Linked DNA regions of Homo sapiens: regions 1 and 2 are each linked to region 3. Evidence: promoter capture Hi-C in human tissues and cell types (Jung and others, 2019). All regions are on one chromosome and are shown on one strand. Each heading gives the region's core, a stretch centred on a gene start or on the middle of the fragment in contact. The rest is flanking DNA. Distances are from core to core; before and after follow the strand shown.

What was found. Contacts are between HindIII fragments. The study calls those that stand out against the background at their distance.
Region 1: a fragment that was not itself captured here is called in contact with the fragment with the promoter of COMTD1 in region 3 in 1 of the 25 tissues and cell types used here (mesendoderm cells).
Region 2: a contact is called between a fragment that was not itself captured here and the fragment with the promoter of COMTD1 in region 3, in 1 of the 25 tissues and cell types used here (H1 embryonic stem cells).

Annotation. Positions count from the first base shown.
Region 1 is chr10:74,306,299-74,310,372 of GRCh38, reverse strand. All of the region lies in intron 3 of ADK (adenosine kinase), which reads right to left. Among named protein-coding and RNA genes, the nearest start is that of ADK, 160 kb to the right of the region's middle. The HindIII fragment of the contact is 5,647 bases long and covers 1-4,074 here.
Region 2 is chr10:74,417,610-74,421,517 of GRCh38, reverse strand. All of the region lies in intron 6 of ADK (adenosine kinase), which reads right to left. Among named protein-coding and RNA genes, the nearest start is that of ADK-AS1, 110 kb to the left of the region's middle. RefSeq lists an enhancer at 2,276-3,511. The HindIII fragment of the contact is 5,136 bases long and covers 1-3,889 here.
Region 3 is chr10:75,234,045-75,237,962 of GRCh38, reverse strand. COMTD1 (catechol-O-methyltransferase domain containing 1) reads left to right here and starts at 2,006. Exons shown (of 7, transcript NM_144589.4): 1 at 2,006-2,128; 2 at 2,220-2,347; 3 at 2,591-2,696; 4 at 2,785-2,903; 5 at 2,971-3,025; 6 at 3,220-3,353; 7 at 3,738-3,918. The coding sequence starts at 2,035. The coding sequence ends at 3,890. RefSeq lists silencers at 1,758-2,052, 2,088-2,227, 2,388-2,467, 2,598-2,887, 3,048-3,277 and 1 more and an enhancer at 3,908-3,918. The HindIII fragment of the contact is 14,083 bases long and covers 1-3,918 here.

The DNA.
Region 1 (4,074 bases), core at 233-2,732, 930 kb after region 3:
CTAACAAACCAAGAAATATTTATCTTTAGGGAACTGATTGTGCTGTGGCAAGACTAACAGGTGTTTAAGGATGAAAGAGTTTATGATATTATTACATTTTACGGGAAACTTCTATATATTTTCCTTACATGACTTTTTCCATAGGAAATAAAGTATGGGAATTTTAGTAATTTATAGATTCCTTCTTACTTTCTCCTTTTGGTTGACATTCTTTGTCTGAACGGGGTGGCCATATAAACACCTCAATCAAAAGCCTGACAGAATTGGAAGGACAGTACCTGATCCATTTTTCCACCACAAGCCTACTATATTAATTATCATTGGAAGAAATTTAATAAACTTTGTAATATTATAATTATTTATGTTACATTATTACAGGAAAAAATTACAACAAAGATGAATATAGTAATATTAAACAAATGTACAAAAATGGCATTAAAAATAACAGAAGCAAATTAAGATAAAGTTGAAAGAACACAAAATATAAGACATAAACACTTATAGTTTATGAAAGCTGAAATATAATACGGGATGTCCTTATACTAACTGTTCAACAAAATGATCAATAAATTCATTCAATATAATTATTTTGTCTTTAAAAATTAATTTACTGTCCTCCCACCTGTCTAAAACACAGGTCTAGGACCTCTGTTGGACTTTTTCTTTTCAAGAGTGATGGTGTTTGTTACTGATCTACACTTCATACACCCCTCTCCCTTTTTTCAGTCTCTTAAACCTCCCTGCTACCTCTGCTCTCCAAATGTACAGACAAAGCAGCAGAATCAATATTGGAATATGATGTTTATAACTCTGCTTATAAGAGATTTGAATTCTTACTATGTTCTGTCTCCTAGCAATTCTGAAGGTACAGCTTATTTGTGACTTTAATTGTATCTGTTGTTTTGAGGAAGATAAGAAAATTTAGATTCATTATCCTCTAAGTCCAGTTTAAATGGCTTTTGATGGTATAAGTGGCAGCCTAAAAACTAGAAGATCAACACAGTAATCAAGGATATATTAAGATCATGTAAAATAAAAATAGAAATATGTAGAATTAAACACTTTGTGGTTGGAAACTAAATGTATTACTTTTAAATAAAAGGCAACTATTGTAAGTTATATTTAGGATGCATTTAGAAAATGTATCCTGAAAAGCTAGAAAAACAATAGAAAAAGTGAAGAGAACAATAAGGAATACAAAAGCGACAGAAGAAATTTTAAAACACAAATAGCACTGTAATTTTTAATGTGTCATTTTTCTCCTTATCTAACACGAAAAAATAAAAAAGACTTCATGATTATACCCTTCAACATAGAATCATTTATTCCTATATGAATAAAAGTACTTATAAATAAGATATAACAAGAATTATGAACAGGAAAATGTCCACAAAACCAACACTTTACAATTTCCAGTTCTACCTAAGGGCAATTGCTTTCCATTTTCAAAGAAACTAAAGCCACTAACTTATTTCAAACTCAGGGGTGGGAGGGAAGGAGAGAGAGAGAGAGCGAGTGAGCATATGAGAGTGTGTGTGCGCTCAGCATATTATCAGGAGAAGAAAGAAGACCTCACGTTGTGTTAACATCAGCACAGCATAAAAACAACATTAACAATTTTTGAACATTTATAGATTGATGTATGAAGAATAGGACATGTGATTAAAATCTTTACAGTGAAATTCCAAAAATTTAACTTCCTTAAGAAAGCATTCATAACTGCCAAGTAGAATTTCTGATGAAGTTATTCCTTAAACTTCTCATCTAAACAAATAATTAAAAACATAAGTCATTCTAAACAGGTTATACTTATTAAGATCAAATGTTAATAGAATAACACAGGGGGGGAATCGACAGGCAAATTGTAAAATTCAAAGCTTTGAAATCTTTTACCACAAATGTTTAGTGAGGTTTTAAAAAACTCAAATGTCAGTTTGCTAAAAGCCAAAATAACATTTTCGACATGCGTTTATTTTTAAGCATCTTTTTAAAAGACGGAAAAAGTAACAGTTATTCAAAACTAAGGTTAAGCTATTAGTTCATAAGGATTGTAATTTAAAGACACTTCTTGAACCTCCAATTTTATTTTTTTGATAAGAAAGCAATTTTAAGCATGTATTGCTTAGATAAGCCCTTATTCAACTCTAATATGTTTAAAGGTTTAATTATTCCCATTTATAACTCTGAACATGAAGATCATTGTACCTAAGATAATCAAATATACTGCTGAAAAGCATTTTGTATATAAGTATAGATGATTAAAATAAAATGAATTATTCCTAAATTTAGATGCATGATAAGTGCATTAGGTTTCTACCCATTGTAAGAACACAACAAAATTTCACTAAACCAATTTATGATTTTCATTAAATAGTAACTGGTTGACATTTAGTTTTAAATCATAAAAAGAAAAAGTCATATGTAAGCAAAAGAAAAATACTGCAGGACAGTGGTTCTCAAAATTAGATGAGTAATCTCATGGTAAACCTAGAGCATCACCCCCAAGTCCACCGGCAGGTACTTCCAAAACACAAATTATACACTCCACCTCCCTTACTGGTTTGCTTTCAGCTTCTATTTCTACCAGAGTCCATGGTTTATAATGGGCCTGAGTTTCTCTGACCATAGAAATATTCCAGAAACATATGTAATAGATATGGAGAGAGAGTAGTTAAGCAATAACTAGCTAATTATTTCTCTCTAGCAAACTTCAAAAAATGTCACTCATCAGAAATACTCAAACACCTAAAATCTCTTATCAAAACATAATATATGGAACTTCCGATTCTGGGTAGCATATACTGCATCACAGCCAACATTCCTACTGATGACACCTAGGAAGGCCATATAAATCATAAGTCACATTGTTAATGGTACCAAAGAGCTCTGAAGCAACAAGGACAAAGTGGATAAATTTCCGGAGAGGTGAGACCTGTTCACAGGGGCAGGCCAGAACTGGCAGCTTTTTGTTCCACCTGCCAACATTTGCAGCCAGAAGCATGAAGACAGAGAAACAAAATTTGACATTTCCCAAACCTAAAACACACAGCTAGTTTGCCCCAAAACACATTTGCTGAATTCTGAAACTGAATGCTAAGTTAAAGAGGTTAACCAAAATAGTTCCAAAAGCAGAAAGTTCTCTGACTCTAGCTGTGCTTACAAAGACAGAACAAGAAAAGAGCAACTAAAAACATAATAGGCAAGAAATGAAAGCCCTAGAAGGAGTGGAGAATAAAAATAAGGATCCGTGGCACATTTCCACTGGGGTTTGGGGGGAAGGATATACTTATACTGGTTACATGTGGAACCTGAAAATTCACACTTTGTGCTTAGCAGAAGATAATGATAAGGAAGGGGGCAATAGGGGGAAAACAGTAGGGATTTTAGCAATTACATAAGGCTGAAGTAGTAACATTGGAAACTGAAAACCTAAAACAAAAGATCATTTTCCCCTTTGACATAATTGCCAAATTTTGAAGGCAGAAAGAAATTAAGCTAGAAACCTCTGCATTAACCTGGAAACCTCTGAGGTCAGTTTGGTACCCTCATTCTGGTGGACTGTTTCAGAGCGGAGACCACTGGTATCAATTAAAAGTCCTAGAGGTTCAGGCTCTAGGAACAGAAGCAAACAGGCTCAACTGAACTGTCAACACTGAAAAATCAACTTTGACCTAGCTTAACCCTTAATTTTTATTAAGGTAATAAGCTCTCCCCTCACTCCGTATCAGCCTCATACAGAAAAGAGTGAACACTCTGGTAGAAGATACAATCTGAATAATCTACAATTTGCATATAAAGTGTTGGTAAATAATAATAAACAAAGTTATAATAAGAGGTAAAATAATTTGACTAAAACACAAGAAAGAAAAAAGCAAGAGAAGAGTATCTGCCTACTACTTAGACCCAGACATGGTTACAGTCACAGGAAGTATGTGCAGAGCTGAGAAAATAAAGCCCCAGTTCTCTGGCTGGATTACCAAGGCGGAGAGCTCCAGGGAACCACAAACTACTAGGACTCTTCAGACAGCTAGAAAAAGTGAAAAGACTCAGCAAAGAAACAGAAGATAAAGAAGA
Region 2 (3,908 bases), core at 72-2,571, 820 kb after region 3:
CACATATACACATGCATCTATAATTATTTCTGCATCTATCCATCTGCATATATTAAGCTAAACATGAGTAAATACTTATATCTCCAACTCTAATCCAGTACCACAGGTTTCATTCTGGCTCTCCCCTCTTGTTTATTTATCTGTAACATCCCTTCCTGACAGTGAGAAACCTAGCTTCCACCATTCATCATCCATTTACTTATTTGTTCAACCCCAGGATACATGTAAAGAGGTTCAGAACTGTTCACCCATACCGTTATGAGAAACAAATTTACCAACTAGAATAGAGTGTTTCTATAGTGTTCCTTAGTCTTTAGCTTTACATTGTCCAATCAAAACACCATTTTCCAAAGTTACTTAGGTCAGCTCCTTTTCCCCCACCCATTCAGTGAAGTTATGCCATACATTTGTAATACAATTAGATTCATTTGTTACAGCTTGCATTCTATCCTGAAATCCCTAACATTTAAAAAACCTGCATACATTAAAATTAACCCTTTGTGATGTACAGTTCTTTGGGCTTTAACAAATGCATAGTATCATGTATCCACCACCACAGTACCATACAGAACAGTACATCGCCCTAAAAATTGCCTTTTGTATCCCCTTTTTAGTCAACCACTTTTCTTTCCCGTCGTTTGTAATTTCAATACCTGAAATAACTGAAAAATTAAGATGCAAAAATTAAAAATCATGAGTCTTCACAGAATAAAACCTAAAACTGTCAGAAGAGTTACTGTTTAACAGTTAAACTGTAGGGAGAGTTACTACTTAAAAGTTATTGAGTTCTAGACAGGAGAACAAACATCTAAATTCTTTAATTAACTTTTTCGTGGTATTATTCCACAACATGCAAGATTATGAGATCAACTTTTAAGTTGTTCATGGTAAACAGAGTTGGATTCCAATCCTAAGCAACTATTTTCTGCATTTATAAAATATTTTCCAGGGATAGAACCTACAAGCTTTGGTCATAAAAATATTTTGAATTTTTAATTGTTTAAAATAAAGCCAAAACTATTTATTAAAAACAAAACCACAGTGTAGTAACAAAAAATAGAAAACTACCTTACAGTCTATTCATTTTGCTACATTAATTATGTGATTATTAGATCTTAATAGATGTGCTATGATAGCTGCCCAGTTTCATAGATCTAAAGCACTCACTTTCAAGGATAGCTCTTCAAGTAGACTAACAGATAAGAGAAAAACAATAAAAATGTCCAGGTTGCTTATTTGTACTTCCTCTTTCCCCTTCCTGACCCCAACCACCAGAGTACGAAAGTTTCCATTTTATTTACAATTAATAGTGTGCTAAGTCTACAGGTATCACATATTACAGGTTGTGAGAATCATGTCCCAAAAGGCGGTATTATCTGGAGGAAGTAGTTAACTATGTAGGGCTAAGCAATATAATCTACCTACTGGCAGTATCATCATCAGTTAAGAACTTTAAGATTTTAGCTTCCTCCCCCTGGTGGCAGTGTCTGGGGTGATAACTTTTTAAAAATATTCAGATAGCATCTTAAGGTTTATAGCTGCTCTAGTCAATTATAAGTAAGTAATTTGGGGATAGAAGTAGATTTAAATGAAACAGAAGCAGATTTAAAAACTCTTCTAATGGAAGCACTTGCCTCCTATAGTTCTTTTTTTCTAAAATGCAATTACAACCATTACATCATTGTAAATTACATGCTGGGGTTATCTCAGTAGGTATCTGCCAAATGTAAAACTTACAGAAGGTCTTCAATGTAATAACGATGTTTTATCATTTTAATTACAAACTCTTTAAAAAACTCCCTAAAATGTACCAATTGGGGTGGTCTAAATTAACAGTATCTTGGTAGCCCAAGGGTAGCAAAAATAGATTGAACTACAAAATTTCATCATACTTATAGCAGCTGTCTTCCTGCCTCTAGGAAGCTAAGTATTTAACAAAGCAGACAGCTTGGCATTGGCATCTGATTAGCAGTGTGTGCATTGTCAGATAGAATGTGCTTGGCTCTTTTGTTCCAGGGTTTGATTAGAAATCTGGAGAGCAGAGGCATCATGTAACTTTATTTTTAAAGCTTCTGAAAGGTAAATAAACTGTGATGGTTCCTCTGGTATTGTACCTGAAAGACCGATTGATGCTTTTCTAGTAATATGCTTTATCACACCCTAAAAAATTTAAATAAGGGATTTTTGGGGGGGGGAAATACTTCAAAGACTGAAATAGGCCAATCTTAAAATCACTTTAAATATTGTACATACCAAAAATATTTTTGCAATAGAGTGCTTTGCATATTGAGTCTTGCACTAAAATACTGTTGTTGGGGAGGAAGAATGGTCATTTTAGAGTGTAAATACAAGACTCTATTCCTAAATATATGAATAGTCCAAATGAAGATTCAGAAATTTTTTCTAAAACCACGTGAAAAGCTTACTGGAAAAATAACACTGTCTTATAAGAATTATATTATTTTGATGGAGGTGCCAAACATTAAACTATAAAAGGGTGACTCTCATTACCTTTTCCTCACAAATTTCTTTGAAAATTTATTACAAATGATTGTGCTTACTGGCAGAGTTCACAATCAGTAGAGTCCATGCAAACAATCTACTTCAATGAGAAGTACATTCTTTTACTCTATCAAATCCATCGGAGGTAATCAGACTGGATGTTTTATTCAACAGGGCTGAAGAAAATTGTTCTACAATAGGTTAATTCAAAATGGCAGCATAGAAAATGCATCTGTCAGTGGGGATCAAATTACAGGGCAAGCTCCTCTCAATGCTTAGAAAAACAAGTCTGCAGTTCTACAGATTATGTGCCTGTGTGTGTTTAAAGGGGTGGGAAAGGAGCTAAATATCTGAGCTAACCTCCAATTAAAGTCAATCATAAAAACAGCCAATTTAATGAGTGCGGATTTCTTTGGGTAATTATAACACCAACCACTTTTTTCTCTTTTAAATCTGTAATTCTGCCTTCTTGTTATTGCTTGCTTTGTCATTAATCGCCTCAGGACCTTGATTTCCTAGCAACAGACTGCCACCAAACATTTGGCTCCTGTTCAACATTTTCTTTGTGAAAAATGGCACTGCTGTTGCCGCCTGGGCTGCTGCAGCTAGACTGGCTGTGTAAGTGCTCTAATAATGTATTCCACTGGAAAAAAAAATCACATGATACAGGGTGCAATGACTGAGCTCAGTTAATTACTGAGCTGGGAAGTTTATCGACAATCTAAAAGCTGTGTTGGGGGAAAGGGGACTAAGGATTGAAAAGGTGTTCCTTCCATTATCAATAACTTGCAGGTAACAATATACAAAGAAACATTTTATTTTGGGGAGTACAAGTTTCTGTTTATTTAGGAAAGAGTACAAAAGGCCAATGTTCCCAAAATGTTGCTTGATGAAATTTTCCTCTACAAACAGCCCCAAACACACAAAAGATTCACAGAATAGTTTGCTAAAATTTTAAAAAGCAAAATAACCTATGTATCTTTTAGCTGTTTCTTTCCTACTTAAGGCAAAAATTATTTGTATATATAAATATGCTATGAGATAACAGAATGAGGTTTTCATTCACAACATGAACACCCAACACTAAGAATATAGAATTCAAAATATGTTTTGATATATTGTGCACGTGAGTAAATATTTAATAATCTATAAGAGAAAAAATATGCTTATCACTATTTTTGAAATTATTTAAGTGGGAATGAAGCAGTCAGGGCTCGTGAATGGAAACCCAGTAATAAAACAGATATTTTGCTTTTTTTTTTTTTAAAGTAGATTTACTGAGATTCTCCATGCCTTAGAAATCCTACCACCTCCCAGAAATGATAGTTATGGAAATTAACATGGCATGTCAGATATGGTTCGCTGATGCCTTGCTTTAGTTCTCAGAAATAAGGCTTTAAAAGACT
Region 3 (3,918 bases), core at 757-3,256:
GGGCGGATCACATGGTCAGGAGTTCGAGAACAGCCTGGCCAATATGGTGAAACCCCGTCTCTACTAAAAGTACAAAAATTAGCCAGGCATGGTGGCTGGCGCTTGTAGTCCCAGCTACTCAGGAGGCTGAGGCAGGAGAATCGCTTGAACCTGGGAGGCGGAGGTTGCAGTGAGCTGAGATCGCGCCACTGGGCTCCAGCCTGGACGACAGAGCAAGACTCCATCTCAAAAAAAAAAAAAAAAAAAAAAAAAGGCTCTTACAGCCTCCACCCCAGGGGACATCTGCAGTGCAGCAGGAAGATAACCGGCTGCCCTTCGGACTTTGACTCCTTTTAAAGGTAACATGACAGCTCACTAAGTGCCAGGATTTTCTCATTTGGTCCCCTGTGTAAGTCCTCAGCCTGGATTTTCTCATTTGGTCCCCTAGGAGGTTGGGACTATTCATAACGCCATTTCACAGAGGCAGAAGTCGTGAAGCTTAGGCCACCCGCCAGCTGTGTGTGACCTGCATCTCTGAAACCAGCTTCACTAAGAATACCAACCAGAGGCCAGGCACGGGGGCTCACACCTGTAATCCCAGCACTTTGGGAGGCTGAGGCAGGAGGATCACTTAAAGCCAGGAGTTCGAGACCAGCCTGGACAACATAGTAAGACCCCTTCTCTTTAAAAAAAAAATTTTTTTTTTTAAATTAGCTGGGCACAGTGGTGACCGCCTGTGGTCCCAGCTACTTGGGAGGCTGAGGCAAGAGGATTGCTGAGCCTGGGAGCTCGATGCTGCAATAAGCAGTAATCTTGCCACTGCACTTCAGCCTTGCCAGAGACCTTGCCAAAAAAAAAAAAAAGAACACCAACGCCAGGCACAATGGCTCAGGCCTGTAATCCCAGCACTTTGGAAGGACGAGGCAAACAGATCACTTGAGGCCAGGAGTCTGACACCAGCCTGGCCAAAATAGCAAAACCCGTCTCTACAAAAAATACAAAAATTAGTTGGGTGTAGGGGTGCGTGCCTGTAGTCCCAGCTACTCCAGAGTCTGAGGCAGGAGAATCGCTTGAATCAGGAGGTGGAGGTTGCAGTGAGACCAGATTGTGCCACTGCACTCCAGCCTGGGTGACAGAGCGAGACTCAGTCTCAAAAAAAAAAAAAAAAAGGACAGCGTCAGCGTCTTTCACCTCCTCCGGAGTTTGGCGCATGGTAGGGGTTCAATCAGTGTTCTCTGGACAGTGTTTCAACAGAACAACCTTGCAAGGGAGCTTCACCGGCTTTCTCCCCAAGATGTCTTCATTCCAACCTACCAACATAACAGCAGCTGCCACTTATGTATTGTGCTACTGTGTGCGAAGCTGTGGGATCTGGTGCCTTTTATGGTAAGATTGTAGGCCTCATTTTACAGGAAGGAAACTGAGGCTCAGAGAGACTGGCAGGACCAAGATTAGACACTCGTATCCATCTGGCCCCCAAAAGCAGGATTTTAACAGCTAAGAATATGGTCTCAGTTCCACAGGCCCACCCCAGGGCTCCTGAACCCCAATTCGAGGCTGCATGCCCTCAAACCAGTTCCCTCACTCCTTCAGCCTGATGCTTTGGGGCATCTTGTCCAGGAGGCCTTCCCCCTTTAATCTCTATCTCTTGTACTTGTGACTATCTTGTAACTTACACTGGCGCCCTCCATACACAATTCACATATGCCCCCAAGGGGCCTCAGAATAAATGGTGGCGAGGAGAAAAAAGCATTGGCAGGAGGGGAATGGAGGCAGGCACCTGGACTGCGGGCACAGGCGGGAAAATTCAGATCTAGGCGCTTGGCCTGCTCCCCGCAGGGGCGCAGTTCCCGGCGCGGCCACCAGATCGCGCCCGGCTCTCTCGGGCGGGGCTTGCAGTAAGGCTGTGTGGCCGCCAGATGATGCCCGAGACCGCGGCTCCGCGGGTAGTGCCCCGACAAGGTGGAGCCCGGCGGGCCCGCGAGTCCGAGACCTGTCCCAGGAGCTCCAGCTCACGTGACCTGTCACTGCCTCCCGCCGCCTCCTGCCCGCGCCATGACCCAGCCGGTGCCCCGGCTCTCCGTGCCCGCCGCGCTGGCCCTGGGCTCAGCCGCACTGGGCGCCGCCTTCGCCACTGGCCTCTTCCTGGGTGAGCAGGACCTGGTCCCGGCGGGCGGGTGGGCGGGCGCAGAGTAGGGCGCGGCGTGGCTCAGGTTAATCCAACACCCTCTCCCCGTCAGGGAGGCGGTGCCCCCCATGGCGAGGCCGGCGAGAGCAGTGCCTGCTTCCCCCCGAGGACAGCCGCCTGTGGCAGTATCTTCTGAGCCGCTCCATGCGGGAGCACCCGGCGCTGCGAAGCCTGAGGCTGGTCAGCAGGGCGCGGGACGGAAACGGGCGTCCCTCTCGACCCCTGCGGGTCCCACGTGGCTGTGTGACCTTGGGCTGGGCCCTGGCCCTCCCTGGGCTTCCGGCTTCCCTGGGCCGGGTGCGGTGGGCGTTCCGAAGGGCCAGTCCCCCAGGCCACGCCCAGAACCGCGCCCCTGGGGCTTGGGACCCCCAGGGCGAAGGTGGGTGACCTGCATGGCTGGTGCCACCCTCTCCTTTCACGCAGCTGACCCTGGAGCAGCCGCAGGGGGATTCTATGATGACCTGCGAGCAGGCCCAGCTCTTGGCCAACCTGGCGCGGCTCATCCAGGCCAAGAAGGCGCTGGACCTGGGTAGGGGCACGCGGCCGGGATCCCGGAGGGCCGAGGTTTCCGGGCCGACCCCCACTCTGGGCTGAGCCCGTCTGTGTCCTGGTCCCAGGCACCTTCACGGGCTACTCCGCCCTGGCCCTGGCCCTGGCGCTGCCCGCGGACGGGCGCGTGGTGACCTGCGAGGTGGACGCGCAGCCCCCGGAGCTGGGACGGCCCCTGTGGAGGCAGGTGAGCGCCCGCGCCTAGCTCTGCAGCCCCAGGCGGGGGCGCAACGGCTGACCCGCTCCCTCCGCAGGCCGAGGCGGAGCACAAGATCGACCTCCGGCTGAAGCCCGCCTTGGAGACCCTGGGTGAGCACCGAAGCGGGAAGGGCTTTGAAGCCATTCATTGCAAACGAGGCTGCTGTGTGGCCGAGCTGTGACTGGGCCTGCCGGGCAGGTTAAGGGCAGGGCCGGTTGTCACAGAGCCCGGGCCGGCCTGGGAGGGGCCTCAGGGCCGCCGGGGCCGCGGACTCAGCCGCACCTGCCCTCCCTCCCCCCGCAAGACGAGCTGCTGGCGGCGGGCGAGGCCGGCACCTTCGACGTGGCCGTGGTGGATGCGGACAAGGAGAACTGCTCCGCCTACTACGAGCGCTGCCTGCAGCTGCTGCGACCCGGAGGCATCCTCGCCGTCCTCAGAGTAAGGGATCCACTGCGGGGGAGGAGAAAGCACCCTGTCGGGCCGGGTCCCCATCTTTTCCCTTGACTCCTCTTATACCCCAAAGCCCCACCCAGTCCAGTCACGTAGGCTACACCCCCTCCGGGGCTCCGGCCCCGGTACCCAGGCTTTCCTCCGCTTTGGTTCTGTCTCCAGCTCTGGTCACCTCCTGCCCGGGCACCTCCCTCCGAGGCCCCGCCTCCCGCCCAGACACCTCCCTCCGAGACCCCGCCTTCCGTCTGGGCACCTCCCTCCAAGACCCCGCCTCCCGCCCGGGCACCTCCCTCCCAGTCCCCCGCCTTCCGCCCGAGCACCTCCCTCCGAAGCCCCGCCTCCCACGGCCCGGTTGGCCCCGCCCTCCCGCAGGTCCTGTGGCGCGGGAAGGTGCTGCAACCTCCGAAAGGGGACGTGGCGGCCGAGTGTGTGCGAAACCTAAACGAACGCATCCGGCGGGACGTCAGGGTCTACATCAGCCTCCTGCCCCTGGGCGATGGACTCACCTTGGCCTTCAAGATCTAGGGCTGGCCCCTAGTGAGTGGGCTCGAGG